Regions from separate parts of the Homo sapiens genome. Here regions 1, 2, 3, 5, 6 and 7 are each linked to region 4. The links are contacts of gene promoters, found by promoter capture Hi-C in blood cells and fetal thymus (Javierre and others, 2016). All regions are on one chromosome and are shown on one strand. The core of a region is centred on a gene start or on the middle of the fragment in contact, and the rest is flanking DNA. Distances in the headings are between cores, read along the strand shown.

What was found. Contacts are between HindIII fragments. The CHiCAGO score rates a contact against its expected background, and 5 or more counts as called.
Region 1: a contact is called between a fragment that was not itself captured here and the fragment with the promoter of FOXF2 in region 4, in 2 of 17 cell types (endothelial precursors and M0 macrophages). The highest score is 7.0, in endothelial precursors.
Region 2: a fragment that was not itself captured here is called in contact with the fragment with the promoter of FOXF2 in region 4 in 2 of 17 cell types (activated CD4 T cells and total B cells); the score reaches 6.3 in activated CD4 T cells.
Region 3: a contact is called between a fragment that was not itself captured here and the fragment with the promoter of FOXF2 in region 4, in 3 of 17 cell types (endothelial precursors, non-activated CD4 T cells and M2 macrophages). The highest score is 6.6, in endothelial precursors.
Region 5: a contact is called between a fragment that was not itself captured here and the fragment with the promoter of FOXF2 in region 4, in 2 of 17 cell types (total B cells and total CD4 T cells). The highest score is 6.0, in total B cells.
Region 6: a fragment that was not itself captured here is called in contact with the fragment with the promoter of FOXF2 in region 4 in 6 of 17 cell types (naive B cells, activated CD4 T cells, megakaryocytes and 3 more); the score reaches 7.1 in naive B cells.
Region 7: a fragment that was not itself captured here is called in contact with the fragment with the promoter of FOXF2 in region 4 in 4 of 17 cell types (naive B cells, total B cells, naive CD4 T cells and 1 more); the score reaches 7.7 in naive B cells.

The regions. Positions count from the first base shown.
Region 1 is chr6:740,394-743,425 of GRCh38, reverse strand. All of the region lies in intron 1 of LOC105374873 (a long non-coding RNA gene), which reads left to right. Among named protein-coding and RNA genes, the nearest start is that of EXOC2, 49 kb to the right of the region's middle. The HindIII fragment of the contact is 634 bases long and covers 1,359-1,992 here.
Region 2 is chr6:640,729-643,736 of GRCh38, reverse strand. All of the region lies in intron 1 of EXOC2 (exocyst complex component 2), which reads left to right. Among named protein-coding and RNA genes, the nearest start is that of HUS1B, 15 kb to the left of the region's middle. The HindIII fragment of the contact is 5,163 bases long and covers 1-3,008 here.
Region 3 is chr6:760,096-763,350 of GRCh38, reverse strand. No RefSeq gene overlaps it. Among named protein-coding and RNA genes, the nearest start is that of EXOC2, 69 kb to the right of the region's middle. The HindIII fragment of the contact is 732 bases long and covers 932-1,663 here.
Region 4 is chr6:1,387,965-1,391,119 of GRCh38, reverse strand. It overlaps FOXF2 (forkhead box F2), which reads right to left and starts at 1,544. Exons shown (of 2, transcript NM_001452.2): 1 at 2-1,544. The coding sequence starts at 1,172. FOXF2-DT (FOXF2 divergent transcript) reads left to right here and starts at 1,659. Exons shown (of 3, transcript NR_187218.1): 1 at 1,659-2,101. It overlaps MIR6720 (microRNA 6720), which reads left to right and starts at 709; the gene lies at 709-806. RefSeq lists an enhancer at 1-362. The HindIII fragment of the contact is 4,023 bases long and covers 1-3,155 here.
Region 5 is chr6:552,319-555,687 of GRCh38, reverse strand. It overlaps EXOC2 (exocyst complex component 2), which reads left to right. Exons shown (of 28, transcript NM_018303.6): 20 at 400-461; 21 at 1,768-1,834. Among named protein-coding and RNA genes, the nearest start is that of HUS1B, 100 kb to the left of the region's middle. RefSeq lists an enhancer at 2,958-3,369. The HindIII fragment of the contact is 1,846 bases long and covers 845-2,690 here.
Region 6 is chr6:569,709-573,149 of GRCh38, reverse strand. EXOC2 (exocyst complex component 2) reads left to right here. Exons shown (of 28, transcript NM_018303.6): 13 at 506-630. Among named protein-coding and RNA genes, the nearest start is that of HUS1B, 86 kb to the left of the region's middle. The HindIII fragment of the contact is 4,243 bases long and covers 1-3,401 here.
Region 7 is chr6:680,701-683,705 of GRCh38, reverse strand. All of the region lies in intron 1 of EXOC2 (exocyst complex component 2), which reads left to right. Among named protein-coding and RNA genes, the nearest start is that of EXOC2, 11 kb to the left of the region's middle. The HindIII fragment of the contact is 1,423 bases long and covers 663-2,085 here.

The DNA.
Region 1 (3,032 bases), core at 426-2,925, 650 kb after region 4:
AATATAATACTATCTACTTTATATGTTTTTATGGATTAAATAAGACAATATATGTCAACTGCTTGAAAATGTGTCTGACACATGATACATCCAATAAAAAGTTTGCTATGATTGTTGTATTATAGTTATGTATGGATGCCCTGCTCCTACTATACTGCTATTTAACTGAGTTTGAAGGTCATGTTCCTTCACTTTCTTATTCGCAGGACCTACTATAGTCACTCAGTGAATGATTATTAAATGTTGAAAATGAATGAAAAATTTAGGAGAAAATTAAATATTATCCTTATTTAACACACACATGCTAAGGAATTCCAACCAAAATCTCAACAGGGCTTCTGTGGAATTTGATAAAATAATTCTTAAATTTATATAACATAATGAAAGACCAAAAACAGATAAAATACTTCTAATGAGGAAACTGAAGAAAGTGGAGGGGTATACCCCATCAGACATCAAGAATAAATATAAAGCTACTGAAATTAAGAAAACGTAGTATTTATATAGAGATATAAACGTTGAAAAAAAATAACAGAAAAGAGAGCCTGAAAGAGGTTTCTGCATTTGATGAACTATGATAGTTGTTGGAGATGGCATTAAAAATCAGCCAGTGGGAAAATTGGGGGCTAATTAATAAATGGTGCTGGGGCAATTAATTATCAGTATGAAAAAAATAACATTGGATCCCTACATCACACCATAAACAAAAATCAAAGGCATAAATATATGAAACAATTCTCTAAAATTTTTAGAACTATAAATATAAAACTTAATATATGCTAAAATTAAACATTTCTATTAATCAAACGGCACTCCTTAAAAGGGAAATTATGTTGGTAAACTAGGAGAAATTATTTGCAATCCATACAGGCATACCTTTTTTTATTGTGTTTCACTATATTGTGCTTTGCAGATACTGCTTTTATTTTTAAAAATTGAAGGTCTGTGGCAATGCTGCATCCAGAAAGTCTACCAGCGCCATTTTTCCAGCAGCATGGGCTCACCTTGTGTTCTTCTGTCACATTTTGGTAATTCACACAGTGGTTCAAACTTTTAAATTATTATTATTTCTGTTATGGTAATCTGTGATCAGTGACAGTTGTTGTTACTATTGCAATGGTGCCACAGACTGAGCCCATATAAGAAGGTGAACTTAATTGATAAATGTTGTGTGTATTCTAACAGCTCCATCAGCTGGCTTTCCCCATCTCCTGCCCTCTCCTCAGGCCTCCCTATTCTCTGAGACATAATAATATTGAAAGTAGGCCAATTCATAACCCTACAAATGGCCTCTAAGTGCTCAAGTGAAAGGAAGAGTCATCTCTCATTTTAAATCAAAAGCTAGAAATAATTAAGCTTATTGAGGAAGGCATGTCAAATGATGAGAGAGCCTAAAGCTAGGCCTCTTATGGCAAAAAATTAGCCAAGTTCTGAATGCAAAGAAAAAGTTCTTGAAGAAATTAAAAATGCTACTCCAGTGAACATTTAAATGATAACAAAGTAAGACAACCCTATTGCTGATATGGAGAAAGTGTGAGTAGTCTAGGTAGACCAGACCACAACAAACCAGCTACAACATTCTCTTAGGCCAAAGCCTAATCCAGAACACAGCTTTAACTCTCTTCAATCTTTTGAAGACTGAGAGGAGCTGCAGAAAAAAAGCTGCAGCTAGACTGAAGCTAGCAGAGGTTGGTTCATGAGATTTATGGAAAGAAGTCGTTTCTAGAAAGTACAATTACAAATGAGGCAGCAAGCGCTTTGCAGAAGCTGCAGCAGGTTATCCGGAAGATCTAGCTAAGATCACTGATGAATGTGGCTATGTGAAACAACACACTCGGAAGATCTAGCTAAGATCACTGATGAGATCACTGATGAATGTGGCTATGCGAAACAACACATTTTCAGTGTAGGTGAACCAGGCTTCTTTTGGAAGAAGATGTCATCCAGGACTTTCACAGTTAGAGAGAAGAAGTCAACATCTGCTTCAAAGCTTCAAAAGACAGGCTGACTCTCCTGTTAGAGGCCAATGTATCCAGTGACTTTCAGTTGAAGCCAGTGATTATTTACTATTCTGAAAATCCTAGAATGCTTAAAAATTATATTAAAACTACTCTGTCTGTGCTTTATAAATGGAAAAACAAAGCCAGGTGACAGCATATCTGTTTACAGCATGGTTTACAGAATATTTTAATCCCGCTTTTGAGAGTAACTGCTCAGAAAAAAATATTTCTTTCAAAATATTAACACTCATTAATAAGGCACCTAATCACCCAAGAGTTCTGATGGAGATATACAAGAATATGAATGTTGTTTCTACACCTGCTAAAACAACATCCATTCTGCAGTCCATGTATCAAGTAGTAATCTCAACTTTCAAGTCCTACAATCTCAGAAACACATTTTATAAAGGCTATAGCTGCCACAGACAGTAATTCTTCTAATGGATTCGGTCAGGCAAAGTGAATTGAAATCCTGGAAAGGATTCACTGTTCTGAATGCCATTAAAAACAGCTGTGATTCATGGGAGGAGGTCAGAATATCAACATTAACAGGAATTTGGAAGAAGCTGATTCCAGCCACTATGGATGACTTTGAAGGGTTCAAGACTTCAGTAGAAAAAGGAACTGCAGATGTGATGGAAATAGCAAGAGAACTAGAATTATAAGTGGAGCCTGAAAACGTCACTGAATTGCTGCAATCTCATGATCAAACTTGAATGGATGAAGAGTTGCTTCTTATGGAGGAACAAAGAACATGGTTCCTTGAGGTGAAATGTACTTCTGGAGAAGATGTTCTGAACATTGTTGAAAAGACAACAAAGGATTTAGAATATTAAATGAACTTAGTTGATAAGGCAACAGCAGGGTTGCTGAGGATTGACTCCAATTTTGAAAGTTCTATGGTGGCTAAAGTGCTGTCAAACAGCATCACATGCTACAGAGAAATCTTTTATGAAAGTAAGAGTTGGCCGGGCGCGGTGGCTCATGCCTGTAATCCCAGCACTTTGGGAGGCCGAGGTGAGTGGATCATCT
Region 2 (3,008 bases), core at 133-2,632, 750 kb after region 4:
TTTTTACTTATGTTATTGGTTTCCACTGTTTATTTTTTTCCTATTTCTGTCATTCTGCTTCCTTTTCCTGCCCTCCTTCCCCTTTACTTTGAGTTTATTTAGCCCTTATTTTTCTAGTTTTTTTTTTAAAAGGTGGAAACATAGATTCTTAATTTTAAATATTTTTTCTCTAAGATTTTAAGTTACTGCTTTGGTGGCATTCCACAAATTTTGATAAATGTTTCTTATCATTCATTTCAAAATATTTTGTTTCCCTCTTAATTTCTACTTTGAATGTTGGGTTATTTAGAAGTGTATTAATTTCCAAATACCTGGATACTTTTCTGGATATTGTGTTTCTATTGCTAACGAAGATTCCTTTGTAATCTTCGGAATTTCGGTCTTTGGAATTGCCTGTGACTTACTTTATGGCCCAGCATATCGTCTATCTTGGTGAACATTCCATGAGCACCTGAAAAGGAGTTTTATAAATGTCAGGTCAGGATGACCAACAGTGCTGTTCATATCTTCTATGTTTTTTGTTTGTTTTTTAATATCTAGTTATTAATATTGAAAGGGAATATTAAAACCTCAAACTATGATTGTGTATTTATCTCTCCCTATCAATCAGTTTTTGTTTAATGGGTTTTGAAGCTCTTGTATTAGGTGTATACAGTTTTGATTGTTATGTCTTTCTGATGAATTTGTCCTTTCATCATTATAAACTCTCCTACCAAATTGCTTTGTGGTATCACTTCCCCTTCAGATTGAAGAACTTCTTTCAGCATTTCTTGTCATACAGATTTGTTTGCAATGAACTTTTTTTTTTTTACTTGAAAAATGCCTTTTACAACTTTAATTTCAGACTTTTTTTCTTCCAGTACTTTAAAGAACTATATATCTTTAGATAAATCTATTTCTATAACTATATTGATCTATAATCATGTTCACTGACTGTTTCTTCAAATATCTTCTACCTACTGTGCAGCCTAATCAGTGTATTTTTCATTTCAGACAGTATACCTTTCAGTTCTAGAATTTGCATTGCATTTCTTTTTAAAAAATAATTTTATAATTTTAATTCCTCTATTTAGAACAACCATCTGTTTATTCATTATGATTACATATATTTTAATAACATTTGTTATAGACTCTTTTAAGTTCTTATCTACTAATTCTTCTGTCTGGTTCATCTTGGGGTCCATTTCGGTTATCTGCTTATTTGCTTATAAAGAGATAGGAAAAAATCCAAGTGTTTTTCCTACTTTCTATGTTCACACAGCCACTAACTCAGTACACACTCCTGATACCAGGTGTGTGTGAAGTTTTCCCCACACACCAAGCAAGCAGCTCTCCAGCGGACACCAGCTAGATGTCCTCTAATTCAGTTCAGTCCTGACATGAGCATGTCAGATCCCACAGCTTGAGAAGTGGGGATATAAAATTGATTAAAGATGTGTTTTCAAAGAAGAAACAAATAAAATATCTAAAATTTAACACAGTGAATATTAACATTATGTAGTAGAAGTTTAATAGAAGGAGGGATCAGGGAGACTAAAATAACATTTGAGCATGACTTGAAATATTGGTAAAGATTTAATAAACTTGGAAATTTCTCTTTGGTGCAAAGAGGTTGAATTACATGAATACAAGCATGTGGCAGGTTCGTAAGAGGTGAATGGGCTCATGTGGGGAATGTCAGAGGAGAGGAGTGGTGGAGATGAAGTAGGCAGTGTGGACGGGTCTAGCTGTGACAGGCTTTGAACGGGATGTGGAGGAGGTTGTGGGCTGTGCAGACCACAAAACAGTGGATTTCATAGAAGATTATTTTAAAGGTAGGGATAATATTGATTAGCTCCATATTTTAGAGAACTAACTGGCATTTGCTGAGGGTGGATTGCAGTGGAGAGAAAATGGGGCAGAGTTACCAGTTATACGTCTGTTGCAGCATTGAGGGGAGAAGACGAAGGTCTTAAGTGGGAGAGCAACAGGAGGAAACAGTAGGATTGAGAGGAATAGTTGATTTTTGATTCAGACAAAAGATACTGATTATTTGATTCAGGGGGTGCCAGAGGGAAGGAGAGGAACTCAAGGTAACCTTGAGTTGTCTCATTGGGTTTATTGGATGAATGATAATGTTTTTCTGGACTTCCTTTTTTGTTGTTTTGCCATTTTATTTGTATTAAATAAGTTACGTAGGCATGATTGATTAAGTCGTGTTGGACTGAACCTAATCTGCAGCCCCGCCTCTCCACAGGAGGTTGGTTTGCTGGTGCTTTGCTCAAAACCCTAACCCTCTAATCCCATGGTCTTTCTGGAATGGCCAGTCCTGCTGTTGAGTCATCTTGGCCTATACTAGGGCGTGGTTTGAGAGGATCATGAATAACAAAGACCCTCCTATTGCCGGAAAACACCAAGGATTTAAGACTCGCTCCCAGAAACCAGGGACAGAGGTCAAATACTCTATTATACAACATACCCCAGACTCATTCCACTCTCTCCTGCCATCCACTGCAACATTTCCAGATTCTTCTAATCTGCCATTTCTTGGTGGTCCGTTTTAGACATTAGCTGTCAGCCTCCCATTATGTGAGAGAAAAGATGGTCACTCCCTGGTTTACCTGTCTTGCCTGCCCCCAAACACACATCCGCCTTTTGTGCCTTATTTCAATTTTGTTTAAACCGGTGGTCAGTTACTACATTATTATGACTGTATAAGTCATGTGTCTTTGGACCTTTTTGAAAATTTCAAGAGCTTTTATTCTTGGATTCATTTATTTTCATGGCATCTAGTTCTTTTAGGGGTAAAAAATTTCTCTCGATATTAATTTGGTATCAAACTTTAGAATGATTTCGAAGTTTTTTTTTTTCTGTACCTGCTGTTAGTAGTTTGGTAGGGCTGTTATAACAAAGTATACTAGACCGAGTGGCTTAAACAACATACATTTATTTTCTCACCCTTTTGGAAGCTAGAAGTCTGAGATGAGGGAGTCAGTGGGGTTGGTTTCTTTTGAGGGCCGTGAGGAATG
Region 3 (3,255 bases), core at 48-2,547, 630 kb after region 4:
TTATTCAACTAGTAGTCCTCAGATTCTTGCCTCAGTGTCTCCTTCTTGGAAATCTGTATTAATTAGGGTTCTCCAGAGAATCAGAACCCAGGTGGGAGACGTGTGGGGAGATGATAAGAAATTGTCTCACATAATTGTAGAAGCCACGGCAGCTGCAAAGCTGGAGGCCCAACAGAGCCAGTGGTGTGGGTTCAGTTTGAGTCCGAAGGCCTGAGAACCAGGAGAGCCGATGGCATAAAAAGACGGCAGGAAAAGAACCATGTCCCAGCTCAAGAAGTCAGGGAGAGAGAACAAATTCCCCCTCCTCTGCGTTTTTGTTCTGTTCAGGGCCTCCTCAGATTGGATGGTGCTCACCCACTTAAGGGAGGGCCATCCGTTTTACACAGTCTACCAGTTTAAATGCCCATCTCATCCAAAACACCCTCACAGAAACACCCAGGATAAAGGTTAGCCAAATATCTGAACTAACCTGGTCTGGTCAAGATGACACGAAATTAATCATCACAGAACAACTAAGACAATCATACCTCATCCTCCCTACCCTCCCTAGAGTTCTGGACAATGCAAATGCCCCCATCTCATTGTGCCATATCCCCAGTGCCTGGTACACACACAGTAGGTGCTTAACAGATGTTGGAGGTTCGTCAGAACTGACTATATTTGCATGTATATTTTCCTCTCTGTTCTAATGCCAGTGTTGTAATTTGTTAGTTCAACACCCAGTCTGCTAAAGCAGGAGTGGTTGCTGCAAACTTTGTAACTGATGGTTCAGGCAGGTACCAGCCTTGTCATAACCACGCAGTAATTACACACGAAAGTATGTTTCCCTGTGCTTTACAAAGCATAAAGCTATTTGTTTTGGTTTCATCCCATCACTTCATTAAGCAGCAGAAGAGTTAGGTTATATACTGAACCAATTTTGTACTAAGCTTTGTTTACTTTCTGTTCAATGAACATGCTAATTCATTGTCATAAAATTCATAGTTTACATGAAAATCCATTGTCCCCTATTCTACCAAATGTTAACGATTCAAAATGTGCAGCAAATGGTTCCATTTAAAGAGCAACACGAGTGAGTATCGAGAACAGCCATGGAGCCCCGGAATAGGCGTCTCTTCCCCCTTTCTCCCCTCCCTGCCTCATACGCCCATCTTTCTTCCGTCTCCATCCGCAAAGAGAAGCTCATAAAAGAGAGAAATGTTTCCATCAGGCACAGCAGTGCAGAAGCTGCATACTGTTTGCATTTGCACAGTATCGTTTTTGTTATCTCCCCACGTCGTTTATAACAGTTTTGCAGTTGTGTGTGGGCGTATAGGTAAAAATTTCTCGAGTATTTTGAATTCTATAAAATCCAGAAGAAACTTTGCCAAATGTATTCCCATCTTGCTTTTTAAACTCACATACATTTAAAGGGATATTCAATACTTTTGTTTTTGACTTGGTTACTCATAGGCCATTAAAGGGTTGTCTTTTAAAAGCTATTTGCTATTCCAGGAGACTTGGGAGCCCATTTTACGATCCTTTCTAAGTCCTTTTTCTCGGAACGGGAAGTTGCATCTTGCCAAGAGTAGGCACACTGAGCAGTGCGGTAGGGCCGGGCTCTGTGAACGGCTGAGAGCTGCATCCCTCTCCTCCTGTGTGTGGATCTCACAGGGTGAAAGCTTGATCAAGACAATTACAGTGAGAAAGCAACGTGAGAAAAATCAGGAGCTTAAATGCCAGCCAAGAACCGGGCTTTCCTCTGGGTCTGAAACTAGACTGGGGAAGACGTGCCTTTCTCAAAATCCAGAGAGCTGCCCCTCCGGGCAGTGCCATCACCTTTCCGAGCTCCGTGCACCAGCTCCCGAGTCCTGCAGCGTGTGGCCGGCCGCGGCCATCGGCTTTCCTCACTCTCGTCATTTCACTTGTCATCAGCAGAAAAGGCAGAAGGAGCAGCTCTCCTTCCCCGCGTGGGGGGTACCCATCCCGGCCAGAGACACAGAGAGCTGGCCTTTCCTTCTCTTCTTACCGCTTCGCATCTGTCAGCCGAGGCCTGGGCTTAAGGGAAATGCACGGCCACGCTGGGCGGGTTTCTCGGAGCTGCCCTAACACGCTAGCACGGCCCGGGTGGCCTCCGACCACAGGCACATTCTCTCAGGCTTCTGGAAGCTGGAAGTCCAAAGTCACCGCGCCGAAAGGGCCGCCTGCCCCCTGCAGCCTAGGGAAGAATTCTCCCTCGCCGCTTCTCGTGGTGTTGCCAGCATTGCTTGATGCTTCCTGCTTTGCAGATGCGTTACTGCAACCTGCTCCGCCCCCCGGGTTCAAGCGATTCTCCGGCCTCAGCCTCCCCAGCAGCTGGGACCACAGGCGCCCCCCACCACGCCCGGCTCATTTTTTGTATTTTTAGTAGAGACGGGGTTTCACCGTGTTAGCCAGGATGGTCTCGATCTCCTGACCTCGTGATCCGCCCGCCTCGGCCTCCCAAAGTGCTGGGACGACAGGCGTGAGCCGCCGCGCCCGGCCCCCAACAGGTAATTTCTTATCCCCAACATTGCCTTTAATATCCATACTTCTACCAAGTGTCTTCTAGGCTTTTAAAAGCATGTACCTCAAGTTTCTTCCAGTCACTTCCCATTACCCAATTCCAATGCCACTTCTGCATTTTTAGAAATTCGCTACAGTAGAACCCAACTTCCCAGTATCAAAATGTGTGTTAGTCAGGGTTCTCAGAAAAACAGAATCAATCAAGAGTGTACATAGATACCCACGCACATGTATATAATATATACGTAAAAATCTTACTAAATATTATATATGCTATATGTTATATATGTTGTGTGTTTGATATTATTTGGCTCTGTGTCCCCACTCAAATCTCATCTCAAAATATAACCCCCACTTGTCCAGGGAGGGACCTGTAATCCCCACATGTGGAGGGAGGGAGGTGATTAGATCATGGGCACAGTTTTCTCCATGCTGTTCTCGTGATAATGAGTGAGTTCTCACAAGAGCTGATGATTCTATAAGTGTTTGACAGTTCCTCCTTCACATGCTCTCTCTCCTGCTGCATTGTGAAGAAGGTGCCTGCTTCCCCTTCTGCCATGATGGTAAATGTCCTGAGGCCTCCTCAGCAATAGGGAACTGTGAGTCAATTAAATCTCTTTCCTTTATAAATTACCCAGTCTCAAGTATTTCTTCATAGCAGTGTGAAAATGGACTGATACCGTGTTGTGTATTATTTATTAATATACATACACCTACTCCCAAAAAGAAAGA
Region 4 (3,155 bases), core at 295-2,794:
CCTGAGAGGTCCTCGCGAGCGTTCTGGTGCAAGTAGCTCTGCTCCAGCGAGTAGGAGGACATGCTGGAGTGCAGGCCTGCCGAGGCGGCGGGGTTGCTGCTGGGCGTCAGGGCAGGCGGCTGCTTGAGGTAAGGCGAGGCGCCAGGCGAGCTCCAGTGCGCCGCAGGGCTCGTGTAGGGCGAGTGGCATTCGATGGCGCTCGCCATGGCCGGGGACGAGGGTACCGGGCTGCTGCTGCTGTCCGGCCCGTAGTCGCCGCCGCCGCCGCCCCCGGCCGCACCGACGCCCCCGGGTCCCGCGGGCACCGGGCAGCTGGCCATGTAGGTGGAACCCGGGTTGGGCGACATGTGCGGGACGTGGTGGTGGTGGTGGTGGTGAGGGTGCGCGTGGCTGGGGGCGCCCGCGCCGGCGTCGTAGCCCGCGGGCATCATGTCGAGGCCGCCGTAGCCGCCCTGGCTGTGGCAGCCGAGCGGCGCCGACGGGGGCGCCTGGAAGTCGAAGCCCTGGGGCAGCAGCGACGCCCCGAAGCCCAAGCCGCTCACCACGCGGTGGTACATGGGCTTGAGCGCCTGGCACTTCCGCCTGAAGCCGCGCGGCCGGCGGCGGAACGAGCCCTCCTCGAACATGAACTCGCTGGCCGGGTCGATGGTCCAGTAGTGGCCCTTGCCGGGCCGCCCGAGGCCCTTAGGCAGCTTGATGAAGCACTCGTTGAGCGAGAGATTGTGGCGCACCGAGTTCTTCCAGCCCTGGTAGGCGCCGCGGAAGAAGGGGAAGCGCGCCTGCAGGAACTGGTAGATCTCGCTGAGCGTCAGGCGCTTGCTGGGCGAGCTCTGGATGGCCATGACGATGAGCGCGATGTACGAGTAGGGCGGCTTCTCGGGCCGCCGCAGCCCCGAGCTCGCCTTCTTGGCGCCCCCGCTCCCGGCGCCCGCGCCGCCGCCGCCCGCGCTCTTGCAGGCAGCCGAGGGGGCGCTGGCCGAATTGGAGGAGGACGAGGACGAGGCGCAGGAGGCGGAGGACGACGACGAGGAGGAGGAGGTGGTCTCCGGGGCGGCGGCGGCGGCGGCGGCGGCGGCGGGCGGCGGGCTCATCAGGGCGGCCTGGAGCGCGCCGGGGACCGGGCTGCACGCGCGGCGGAGCGGGGCCGGCGGCGGCCCGCCCTCGGTGGTCATCTGGGACCCGGGAGCGAGGCCGGGCCGCGAGGGCGGGCCCCGGGCGGGAAGCGGAGGCGCCGGAGCGGGGTCGGCCCAGAAGCCCTGCGAGCGCCCTAGCCCGCCGCCCGGGCTGCAGCCGTGGCCACTCCGGGCCAGCGCTTCGGCGTCGCCTCCCTCAGCTCCTCTGGGGCTTCTGGCGGCGGCGGCGGCGGCGGGCGGGAGGCAACGCCCGGCGCATCCCTCCCCGAGCCGCGGGCCCTGCCTTGCGCAACGGCCTCCCAGGCCGCGGGGCCGAGCGGCCGGCGCCGGGCGACTGCGCCCGCGAGTGGGACCGCGGCCTGGACCCCGGGGACGAGCCCGACGTCTCCCTTCAGGAGCGCTCCTCGCTCTGTCTCTCGGACTTCCTCCCTCCCTCGCCCTCCCCGGCCGCCCTCCTCGCTCCCTCCCTCCCTCCCTCCCCCCCCACCCCGCCCTGCCCCCTCCTCGCTCCGCGCCGCCGCGCTCACTCCTCCCCCTCCCGACCTGGCGGCCGCCTCCCTCTCTTATCTCGCTCCCCGCTCTCCAGGGTCTCCTCGCTCTTCATTCCTCTCGCGGCCTCCTCCCCTTTCCCTCACTCACCCTCTTTCCAATTGAGGGATCACAGACTCACTCCGGTTCTGCCAGGGGGACGACCCCCACCCCTCGCAAAACTCGACCACCTCTGACTTCATGAAATATTCTTTCTGTTTGCCCCCCGCAGCAAGCCCCGCGTCCCATCCCAGGACCCAGCCCCGCCCCTCCGCGCCCCCTTCCTCCTCCTGGCCCGCCGGGCCGAGTGGTGCTGCTGCGGGTGCGGCTGCTCGGAGCCTCCCTGGCCGCCCTCCCCAGGGCCGATACTGACTCCATCTGTCAACTTCGTTTAGACTTTGCCGCCCTCAGCCACACGCCGGGGTGCCAGACGCCCAAAGGTAACGTGCCAATCCTCTCTCTTTCTGGCAGGGCCTGCAGGCTCCCCGACAATTGTTAGGGCGACTGGGGGCCGCCGCAGGGTTGCGGGCCGCTGGCGATCGTGGACGTTTTCGGAACTTTGAGCAGAGGGATTTACACTGAGAAACCTAGGCCAAGTTTCAAAGACTCTGGAAACCTGGATCTCATGGGACTTAGGGTTGCATTTGCTTCCACTTCTTCCCCCCACCCCCGCACCCCAGTTAGTGTTCTGTAAGAAAAAAGTGCAAAAGAAAAAGGAAGGAAGGAAGAAAAGAAAGAAAGAGAAAGAAAAAGAAAGACCCTGAGATAAGCGAGATGGCTATATTTATAGTCAGTCCTGAAGGGGTGTGCAGCTGTCACTAGGTTTACATCCTCCGTCTTAACATTGCCCACCCAAAACTGTGCCAGGTCTCAGCTAACTCCTGTCCGAGAACACTTCTCCCCAGTTGTGGCTAATTCCTCCCTAAGTAAGAGTCAGGCTCTGAGAGAGATGTGCCCTCGGGAGCAATCACTTCCAATGAGACCCGACAGTTAGTTATTGGATTACACGTGCAGGGAAATGTAGTCCGACCAGGGATAGGAGCTGGGAGAGGGAGGAGGAGAGCAGGAGGCCGGAGCTGGCGGGGCCTCCCAAGGGCTGAAGGGGGAGGCCCAGAAAGAAGGTGCTGCAGACCAGCGGACCAAACAGGAGGTAGAGCTGGGCACCCCGCTGCGTCTAGGCTGAAAGGACCGAGGTGCACGGGTGTGCCTGCTGGGGAGCCTGGGGAGTTGCAGGAGGCAGGAGAAAGGGAGGTTGTGCAGTAATCAGGAGGAAGACACCAGGCAAAGAGCCTTCACAGCCGCACAGCCTAGGCAGGCCCCCTGGGGCGGCAGGAGCCCTGTGTGCCCCTGGAGTGCCGGGGGACTGCTCCTGGCTGAGTGTGCTGGTGGGGCTGTAGATGCAGAGAGGGCGGGTGGGGAGGGGAGGGGTATGTGGGAGGGGGGTGGGCCGGGGCTGGCCCCAGACAGTGACCTGAGGTTGAGTGGAAGCAGGCT
Region 5 (3,369 bases), core at 518-3,017, 840 kb after region 4:
CACAACGTAAATTAAATGATATTTAGTTGTTCACATTATATCTAGGGTATAAAGTATTGTTATTGGGACCAGTGCTTTGCAGGCACATAAAGTTGAGAATGTGGGTGAATGAATAAGAGAAAGTCTTTTTCCGGAATATATCTTTACAAACTTAATAATTGATCAAAACATAGGCACTTCTAATTGTCTATTACTTATGTGATAGATATGGCTGGGATATATATTTCTGTCATTAATGGGGCATATACAGTATATACACATATTCATACATGCACACAACACCACACCACTAATGAGATATATAATTCTACTTTATGTAAAGTTATCTTTAGTGTCCAAATAGATTAATGTCTAGGAGTTCATTCCTCTGAGAGTTCTGAAACTTATGTTTTCACTTAGGTTTTTATATACTGTCTGGAACAGTTGAGCACCAAGCCTGATGCAGATATAGATACTACACAGTAAGTAAAAATTAAATTAATCTCATTAATGCATTTAAGAGAATTAAAAATACAGGCTCAAGTTTTATGCTTGGTCTTATATCCTAAGACTTCTAGTAAGAAAGAAAGATTGTTCATATCGAAGTAATAGTTTTTTTTTATATTCGACCTATATTCTTTCCATAGTTTATCTTTTCAACTCATCTTTGCCTTATTAGAGACAAATCAAGCAAATTGAAGACATGATTAGCTTATTAATTATCCAAAGAACAGGTTTTATAAATAATAAAGTGTTAAATGTAAATATGTAACTCCTAGTTGATGATTTTTACAATTCTGGTGTTAGGGGGAGGCACCATTGCTCTTGCTAGAGACTAAGCATGTTGGTAGAATTATGTCAAGCTTAGTTATTGGAGCTCCAGTGGACACATGTTAGCTCTTGATGTTTACAAATCCATATGGTAATTCTTTTATAATGCTGTTGTATAGGACAGCATTGTAAAGTGCTGGTTTTTTTTTTAAGAAATCCGTTCTTTCTGAATTATACTTGGCATGTGTAACTTCTGTGTACTTTATGCTCTGACACAGATAATACTGAAATAAATGCCTCTTATATCTTCAGTTGACAACTTGGGAATTTATCCATGTTTGTCTATTTACTGGTTTTGGCTTTTGCTTTTCAGTATATAAAACTATCACCTCCCTAGAGACCCAATAAGTTTTTAATTCTCCTAGGTTTTCTTTGATTTGATTTCATATTTTTAGCTCATTATTTCACCAGGAATTGGTTGTTAGTCAGATCCCTCATATTATGGATTAAATGTCATGTTGCCCATGTTAACAGATTATCCATAGTACCTTCTTCGAGCTGTTAACTGTTAAGTCTAAAACACTTATTAAAAGTTTCTGGCCGGACATGGTGGTTCATGCCTGTAATTCCAGCACTTTGGGAGGCCGAGGCAGGCGGATCACGAGGTCAGGAGTTTGAGACCAGCCTGGCCAACATGGTGAAACCCTGTCTCTACTAAAAATATAAAAATTAGCCAGGCATGGTGGCGGGCGCCTGTAATCCCAGCTACTCAGGAGGCTGAGGCAGAAGAATGGGTTGAACCCAGGAGGAGGAGGTTGCAGTGAGCCAAGAACGCACCATTTGCACTCCAGCCTGGGGGACAAGAGCAAGACTTCATCTCAAAAAAAAAAAAGTTATGTGACTTTCACCAAATGTTTTCCATATAATTCATTGCACGTTTAAATTTGCGTATAGTTCATTGCATTTTTGAATTTGAGTGCTTTATTTGTAACTGTTCCTACTTGCTTCTATGTTCAGTCTCTCTGTTGATGTTTCTTCCCCTGACTTGTTTGGAAGTATCCATGAAGACTTCAGCTTGACCTCAGTAAGTCAGACGATAACTAGAAAGTAAACCATTTTAAAACTGTGTAACAACAATTTCGCAAATCTAATGACTGTGTTCCTGCATCCTTGCTATAGCACGTGGTATAGGACACTGTGCTGTGCTTTGGAGCTCTATTATGTGAAATTTTCAGGAAAGTATAATTTATATGAATTTCACAATTAACACTTTTAGCTGGAGTTGCAGTGTCAGTCATTCCATATACTGTCTGCATCTGTGTGGTTTCCGAGTGTTAAATGGGTGCCCTTATAGTTCCTGGTGCTTGAGAGTTGCCAGGGTGGGTTGGGGAGCAGGCAGAGGACAAGGATGCCCACCCCCTCACGGCTCCTGCCTCTTCAACCAGAGTAGTTCTGCTTTTCTCTGTTTTATTTCTATAAGTTCCATCGTAGCCTTTTATTTGAGCACAGCCTCAAATAGATACACACACACACACACACACACACACTTATACACAAACAGATGTATGCATACACTGCATATATACATATGTATATATACACACACACTTTTTAAAATGTATACATGTATTTAAGGAGATTCACAAACATATATTATCATGTGTATAAATTCATCTGTTGAAACTCAAACTCTAGCTATCATAAATAAAATAACCCTTTCTGGCCAGGCACGGTTGTCATGCCTGTCATCCCAGCACTTTAGGAGGCCGAGGCAAGTGGATCACTTGAGATCAGGAATTCCAGACCAGCCTGGCCAACAGGGCAAAACCTCGTCTGTACCAAAAGTACAAAAATTAGTCTGGTGTGGTGTCGGGTGCCTGTAATCCCAGCTACTCGGGAGGCTGAGGCAGGAGAATCGCTTCAGCCCAAGAGGAGAAGCTTGCAGTGAGCCAAGATGGCTCCACTGTGCTCCAGCCTGGGTGACAGAGTGAGACTCCATCTCAGAAAAATAATAATAATAAATAACCCTCTCTGGTTTGTCATGAGTTTGAAGGGGGGGTGTGTGTGTGTGTGTGTGGTCTGTGTCTGTCTCAAGGTAAAACTGTTTGACCCAAATGTTCTACTATATATGTAAGTATGAATACCTAAATAAGGGATTTGGTATATTAGAAAAAATATAGTTTGGTCAAAGTAATTTAAAAAATTATTCTAGATTCAATTCCTTGGATGACTAGGTAGAGAATGATACCATTCACTGAGACAGAAATTCAGGGAAAACACAGGCTCACGAGAACCTGGGTTTTTTTTTGTTGTTGTTGAATGGGTGACATACAGGTAGAGATATCCAGTGGGTGATTGAATGTCCTTGTTTAGATCCCAGGAGAGAAATCTAGATACAGATTTGTGAATCAGCAGTATATAAGCAATATATAAGGCCTGGGAGTAGATAAGAACACCAAGAATTCTGGCTGAACAAAAGAAAAATGCTGGTTCTTCTGTTCACCCAGAATTGCAGGTGGAGTCGCCCCAAGAGTGGTGGCGGGCCATCCCGAGCCACCCCAAAATGAGGTCAGCTGGCCTTCCAAAGCAAGAAGCATGAAATGCAGGGTCATCAGTGCA
Region 6 (3,441 bases), core at 31-2,530, 820 kb after region 4:
GCACTAGAATGTTTCCTTGTGATAACTGGATTCCTTCCTGCATTCTCACTTCCCAGGGTGTATGATGGCATTTCTCACAGGCTGATCAGCTGCAATTTCACAACTGGCTGCACAGCAGCCCCTGCCTTTGCTGTTAGAAGGCGGGACTTTTTGAAGAGACGTTTACTATCCAGAGGACAAGGCTGATAAGTCAAAGCCACCTCCTCTCGGTAGCCCTCCCAGTACTGAGGCTGTGGCCACCTGGTCCCTTGCCCTGGCTTGCTGGTCAGCCATGAGGGAGAGGGGCTCTTCCTTGCCAGAGGGCAAGGAGAAATGCGGGGGTGTCTGGTGACGAGCGTACCGCTGCCGGTGTCAGCCAGGTGGGCCGCGAGCGTCCACGCAGACTCAGGCTATTCCTAGTGCATGTTGGAGTTTTGCGGGAGTGGAGGGGGGTGCGCCAATATGCTCAAAGGTGTTTTCTTGATTCAGAAGTACAATCATAGTATTTTATTCTTTTCCCCCTTAGCGTGGAGATACAAAACTCCCCACAGGGTGGCCTTTGTTGAAAAATTGACAAAACTCGTCTTGAGCCAGCTGCCTAACTTCTGGAAACTCTGGATCTCCTACGTTAATGGAAGCCTCTTCAGTGAGGTGTGTATACGGACTCGGCTAGAGGTGGAGCTGAGTCACCGTGCATTTCTGGTCTTTAAAATGTTAGATTTAAGTGATTTTTTAAAATGTAGAGGCCCAACATCTCTAGCCATCGTCATAGTTTAAAATCAGTTAAAGCATTATAAAGCCCTCTCACTTAGTAGCTGTGTGACCTCGAACAAGTCACTTTTCCTCATGTACAAAAAGAATAGTCTGGGCACCTGTCTCAAAAGGTGGTTGTAGGGATTAAATGAGATAGGCAATTAAAGAAAAAAGAAAGCTCGAACTCTTTTCAGGGACTCCGAATTGAGATATTGCCAGTCAGGCCAAATTCTGGGTGATGTGCGGTAGACTGTGAACAAATGAGGAAACAAGGATAGCACCTTGGCAGCCGGCACCCGGAACAAAGTCATCCATAGAGTATGCAATTTCCCTTGGAAAGGATGTAAACATTCTGCAGTCTAGCCCCATTGTTATCAGCTTACAGAAGTTTTTATGAGCCCGTCCACCTTCTGCAGTCACACATTTATTAATGCTTTAGTATCTTCATCATCATATGACTGATAGCATAGAAGGCATGAACATAAAGGAATGACTCTGTTATGTGTGGCACATGGAAGTCAGTCACTTTCTAACCTCACCTCAAGTGCGCCATGAAAGGCCTCCGGCTCCTGGACATAGATTCTAACGCCCTTTGTCCTAGGCTGCCAAGGGCACCCCCGTGGGAGACTGAGAAGACAGGTGTTTCGTGTCTCTGCAGGAGACCGACTCTACACCAAGAGCTCTGGGGGAGATAGGGGTCTTCTGAGAGTAAAGGCTACTTTCTGCTTCTTTTTGACTTGGCAACACACAAAATGGACATGGGCAAAGGCTAAAACCATTTTTGGTTTTTTGCACAAAGGCACAGCCTTTGTGGTTTAAACCTCTCCTCCTTGGCGGAAAGTGGCTAAGTGTCAGAGTACCTCAGGTGTCTTTGGAGTCTCATTTGGCCATGACCATAAATTCATGCTGATATTAAGGAAATAGAGATGTGCTCTGGAACTTTTTTCTTTGTATATTTGAACTCCAAGTGCCTAGTATCTCCGTTGTAAACCCGCTGGATTCCTGCAGCCTTGTTTATGTGAATGGTTGGTTTTCTAACCTATAAAATTTACTATGTGCATAAAAACAGAAATGTGTAATGCATGAACACAAACTCCTTAGTGCAGAAAAACCAATCGTGTAAGCACAACTTATCAATGCATTTTTTCTTTAGTTTCAGTTATCAGTTACTTTATAAGTGAACATTCAAATATTAAAGCAATACACAACTTTCTTTTCTTTGTTAGTTATGTATGAACTCTATTGAAAAGTTGACTATACAGAGGAAGTTCTTCCATGAAACGAACGTCAGGTTTCGCAGGTCTACATAATGAGAGTTGCTTATTGCTGGCTTAGGAAGTGAATAATTTCAGTTTTGTCCTGATAAGTCTTTCCAGTACTCTGCTTCTGTGTGTCACCATCAGTTTGTGTCTCTGTGATCTCAGCTGGGTGAGCTGTGGGGCTCACCATGCTGAGGTCAAGCCTTGGGTCCCCCTTGCCCTCTGCACAGTGACAGTAGTGGCACCGCAGGCACCAGCTTCCTCTCTGTGTCTGCTCTGTCCCTAAACCAAATTGTTCGTGTGGGCAGGAAAGATTAGATGCTCCCCTGTCATGCCTTTGGACAGATGGCATTCATAGGTTTTCACGCAGAACACTAGGAGCATAATAGAAACATCCAGTGTCTATCACTTCCTAGCCGTGACCTTAGGCAAATTACTTCTCTGCACCTGCTTCCATAGGACTGGTTTGAGAATTCAATGAGTTAGCATGAGTGAAGTGCTGATAATAATGTCTGACAGATAAGTAAGAGTTTGCTGTTATTATTTGGAGTAAAATTTATTCCAGTATTTCCACTGTTTGAAATCTCATCGGCCTGGCACATGGTAGGTGTTCAGTGAACAAAATTTTGTAACATTAGAAAATAGTAGACTGATGAACTGCTGGAGTAGAATTGAATAATGTCAAGCTGAATCAACTCATCTAAAGAATTAGAATTACTCTTTTAGGGCCAGGCGCGGTGGCTCATGCCTATAATCCCAGCACTTTGGGAGGCCGAGGCGGGTGGATCACGAGGTCAGGAGATTGAAATCATCCTGGCTGACACGGTGAAACCCCATCTCTACTAAAAATACAAAAAATTAGCCAGGCGTGGTGGCGGGCGCCTGTAGTTGCAGCTACTCGGGAGGCTGAGGCAGGAGAATGGCGTGAACCCGGGAGGCGGAGCCTGCAGTGAGCCGAGATCGCGCCACCACACTCCAGCCTGGGCGACAGCGCGAGACTCCGTCTCAAAAAAAAAAAAAAAGAGAAAGAATTAGTCTTTTAGGACATGGATTTTAAGCCGTAGTGTTTGTTTCCAGCCAAGTGTTTTTCCCTCATTTGCATCAGTTCCTACAAGTGGCCCACCACACATGGACAGTAGTTGCCTTCCCTGGAGTCTTTTTGAGTCATAAGATTCCTAAGAATTTTTGATCTAGGATATTTTAGTGAAAAGGGAGTATGTTTTGCTTTCTTACAGATTACATACCAAACATATAAATGAAATATTTGGTCGTAGATGAAAAATAAATCATCTACTTCAGAACTCATGCACAACATTAATGGTGAAATGAAAAAATGACTCTTAATTGGTTGTGCTGAATTGGATATGCCTATGACGTGTCTACCTGTCTATGTTTATAAACTTAAAAGCTTATAGCAATAATTACTAATTACGTGTAATTTGCTCTGCAG
Region 7 (3,005 bases), core at 125-2,624, 710 kb after region 4:
ATTGGAAAAGCTATTATACAAAATTTGGGTCAAATTAATCCAACTTTGCTCATATAAAAGAACCTGGGAGTTAGCGACATCCTGTCATGTTTAACAGTTTTAATGAAATTAACCAATTTAAGCTGACGGTTGGTTTCTTGACCTTTTCTGAAACTCTGCATTGATTTTGGCATGCCTGTTTACCATAGTTATTATATTTGTCAGCGGTGATATTGGTTTATTTCATCCTAAAGATTTGACAAGTCGAGACAAATGAAACTTTGTTTTTATGTAGTAGTATAAATTTAGGAGAATATCTTTTTATCCAATCCTTTCATTATGAATAGCTTAGTAATATTTTCTTGATTTTGTTCCTCTCTCATTCCTGAACATTATTGTTGAGATGGTCAAGTATTTTGTTATTTGAATAAACATATGTAGACTCTTGATATCACTTGGGATTTTGCATTGTTTAGCTTCTTTATTTTCATGTCTTCCTGGCAGTCTTGCTGGAATGGAGTTGGTGGTGTTGATGTTTGTCAAGGATTAGAAAGTCTAGGCCACTCACATCTTCCCGCAAGGTCAGTCTGTTTAGCTTGGAGTTGTTCTGCTGCTTTATTTGCTACTCTTCACCCTGGGTTTCAGTACCTGAGCTCTGTTTCCATCACTGCGAGGGTAAAGCTTTCTCCTACCCTCCTGGTACCTTTTCACTCCTCGCCCTGGTGTACCTTTGCCTCAACTGATCTGGAATCAGACTTCAGGAATTTAGTCATGTTGGGCACTTTTTAAAAAATGATACCATCCTGTATTTCTTTTTGTGTTCAGTTTTTTGGGGTTCTGTGTTTATGGTGCTAATGATGTTAAACTAATGCTCAGAGGAATTCTGAAGCACAGTTATTCACAAAGTTGTACAACCATCACCATTATCTAAGTCCAGAACAGTTTCATCACACCCGGAGAAAACCCTGAATCCATTATCAATCCTTTCCCACTTTCTGCATCCATGGATTTACTTATTCTGAACTTTCATATAAGTGGAATCATATATGTGGCCTTTTATGTCAATTATGACATAATATATGCATAATATTGTTAGTCATTACTGTATGACTTTTACCTAGGAAGTGAAAATTCTTTGGAGAGAGAGAGAGAGGAAAAAATACTGATAAATGATGGTTATAGTTAAGTAATCATGTGTGGAAATGAACTTGTATTTTAGAAACTCGGGGCCGGGCGCGGTGGCTCACACCTGTAATCCCAGCACTTTGAGAGGCCAAGGCGGGCAGATCACGAGGTCAGGAGATCTAGACCATCCTGGCTAACACAGAGAAACCCTGTCTCTACTAAAAATACAAAAAAATTAGCCGGGCGTGGTAGTGGTTGCCTGTAGTCCCAGCTATTCGGGAGGCTGAGGCAGGAGAATGGCATGAACCCGGAAGGCAGAGCTTGCAGTGACCCCAGATCCTGCCACTGCACTCCAGCATGGGTGACAGAGCGAGACTCCGTCTCAAAAAAAAAAAAAAAAAAGAAACTGGGAAATATTTAATAGGAACTGCGGAATGGTCAAGGCTTGTGTTGGATAGAAGTGCCCTATGTGTGACTGGCTGTTAGTCACCAGCACTTTTCTGCAGTGCTGTGTCATGCAGGTTCCTGTTCCCAGCCCTTCTGGAGTTTCACCAATGCCGGTGCTAATTGGTTGTTTAAAATTCGATGTAGAACTCTAAATGAATAAATCCTGACTGAACAGATTCCCTCCATTTCTACCTTAGCTTTTACTGGGCAAAATCCTCCAGGAGTTAGCAGTGAGCAGGAAAAGGACCAGGGTTTTGCTCTCTGGTAACTAAAGGGGGAATTATCCTCCAGAGCAGTTGATTCTCTTGCAAGGGCAGAGAAGCAAAGTATCTGTAGAACCACAGTACCTTGACAGCACTTTAAAAACCCTATTTCCAAGTGCATTTCTGTGAAAACAAGGTTATCTTTAAGAAAAAGATTACTACCTTTATTTGCACTTTTCATTAGAACTGAAAAGTTAGAATTGTTTTATATATTCTCAGTACTATCCCATTCTCTTTTATGGCTGGATTTTTTAAATGGAAAAATCAAGCTTAAATGAGTTTTGGCCTAGTTTTTATAGGACTAAAGGATAGTTGAAAAACAAGTTTCTCTGGTAACTTTCATTATAAATATCTTAGTAATATTTTAAAATTTATTAGGGGCAAAACTCATTTTGGTTTAAACATTTAAAATACTTCTTTGGTGGGGGGAGAAAGGAGACACAGCATTAAAGATCTGCACCTACAAATTAGAATTTCTGGTTTTCGTGTAATTCTGTGTGGAAGCAGTAATAGAATATCAAACTTTTCACCTCTTGGACCTTTCAGTTAAAGGTCAGATTTGAACTGGACCTCTTGTCACCCAGAGGTGACCGATAGAAAAGGAGTTGTTCTGCTTAGATGTTTGGTTAATTTGGATTTATCTGATTGTTTTCCTTAGCATGAATTGTATTGAAGATCAGGAGGAGCTGTCACAGGTTGATTGTGACCTTTTAGGATGTAATTAGGGCACTCAGGTTTTATAGTGGTTTTGGCAGTTGCTCTTGTGACCAGATTTATTGGTTTAAAAGACAGTGCATGGCACACAGTACAGAATCAAGGAATGGCATCTGTCCTGTGAAACAAATCTAGCTGACACCCCTCTCAGAAGCCGCATCTTATAGCTTCTTATGGCAGGAATTTCACACAGCCTTTTGAGGTCTCTGCTGCTGTTGTTGAGGAGATGAAAGAAGAGCCCGTGCATCCCCAGATCTGGTCAGCCCGGCCACCGTTTCACTGAGTGTCTGGCACTGGACTAGACACTAGAGTGAAGAAAGAATATGATGACAAGCCCAGGCAAGCCCACTGAAGATTGCTGGCAGAGAGCTTGGCACAGTAACTTTTTTTCATCCCTTTTTCTTTAATGTAAAGGATACTATCATTTGTTATAATCACTTTCTTAAGATAGTTAATTTACAGGAGAAATGAGCACCA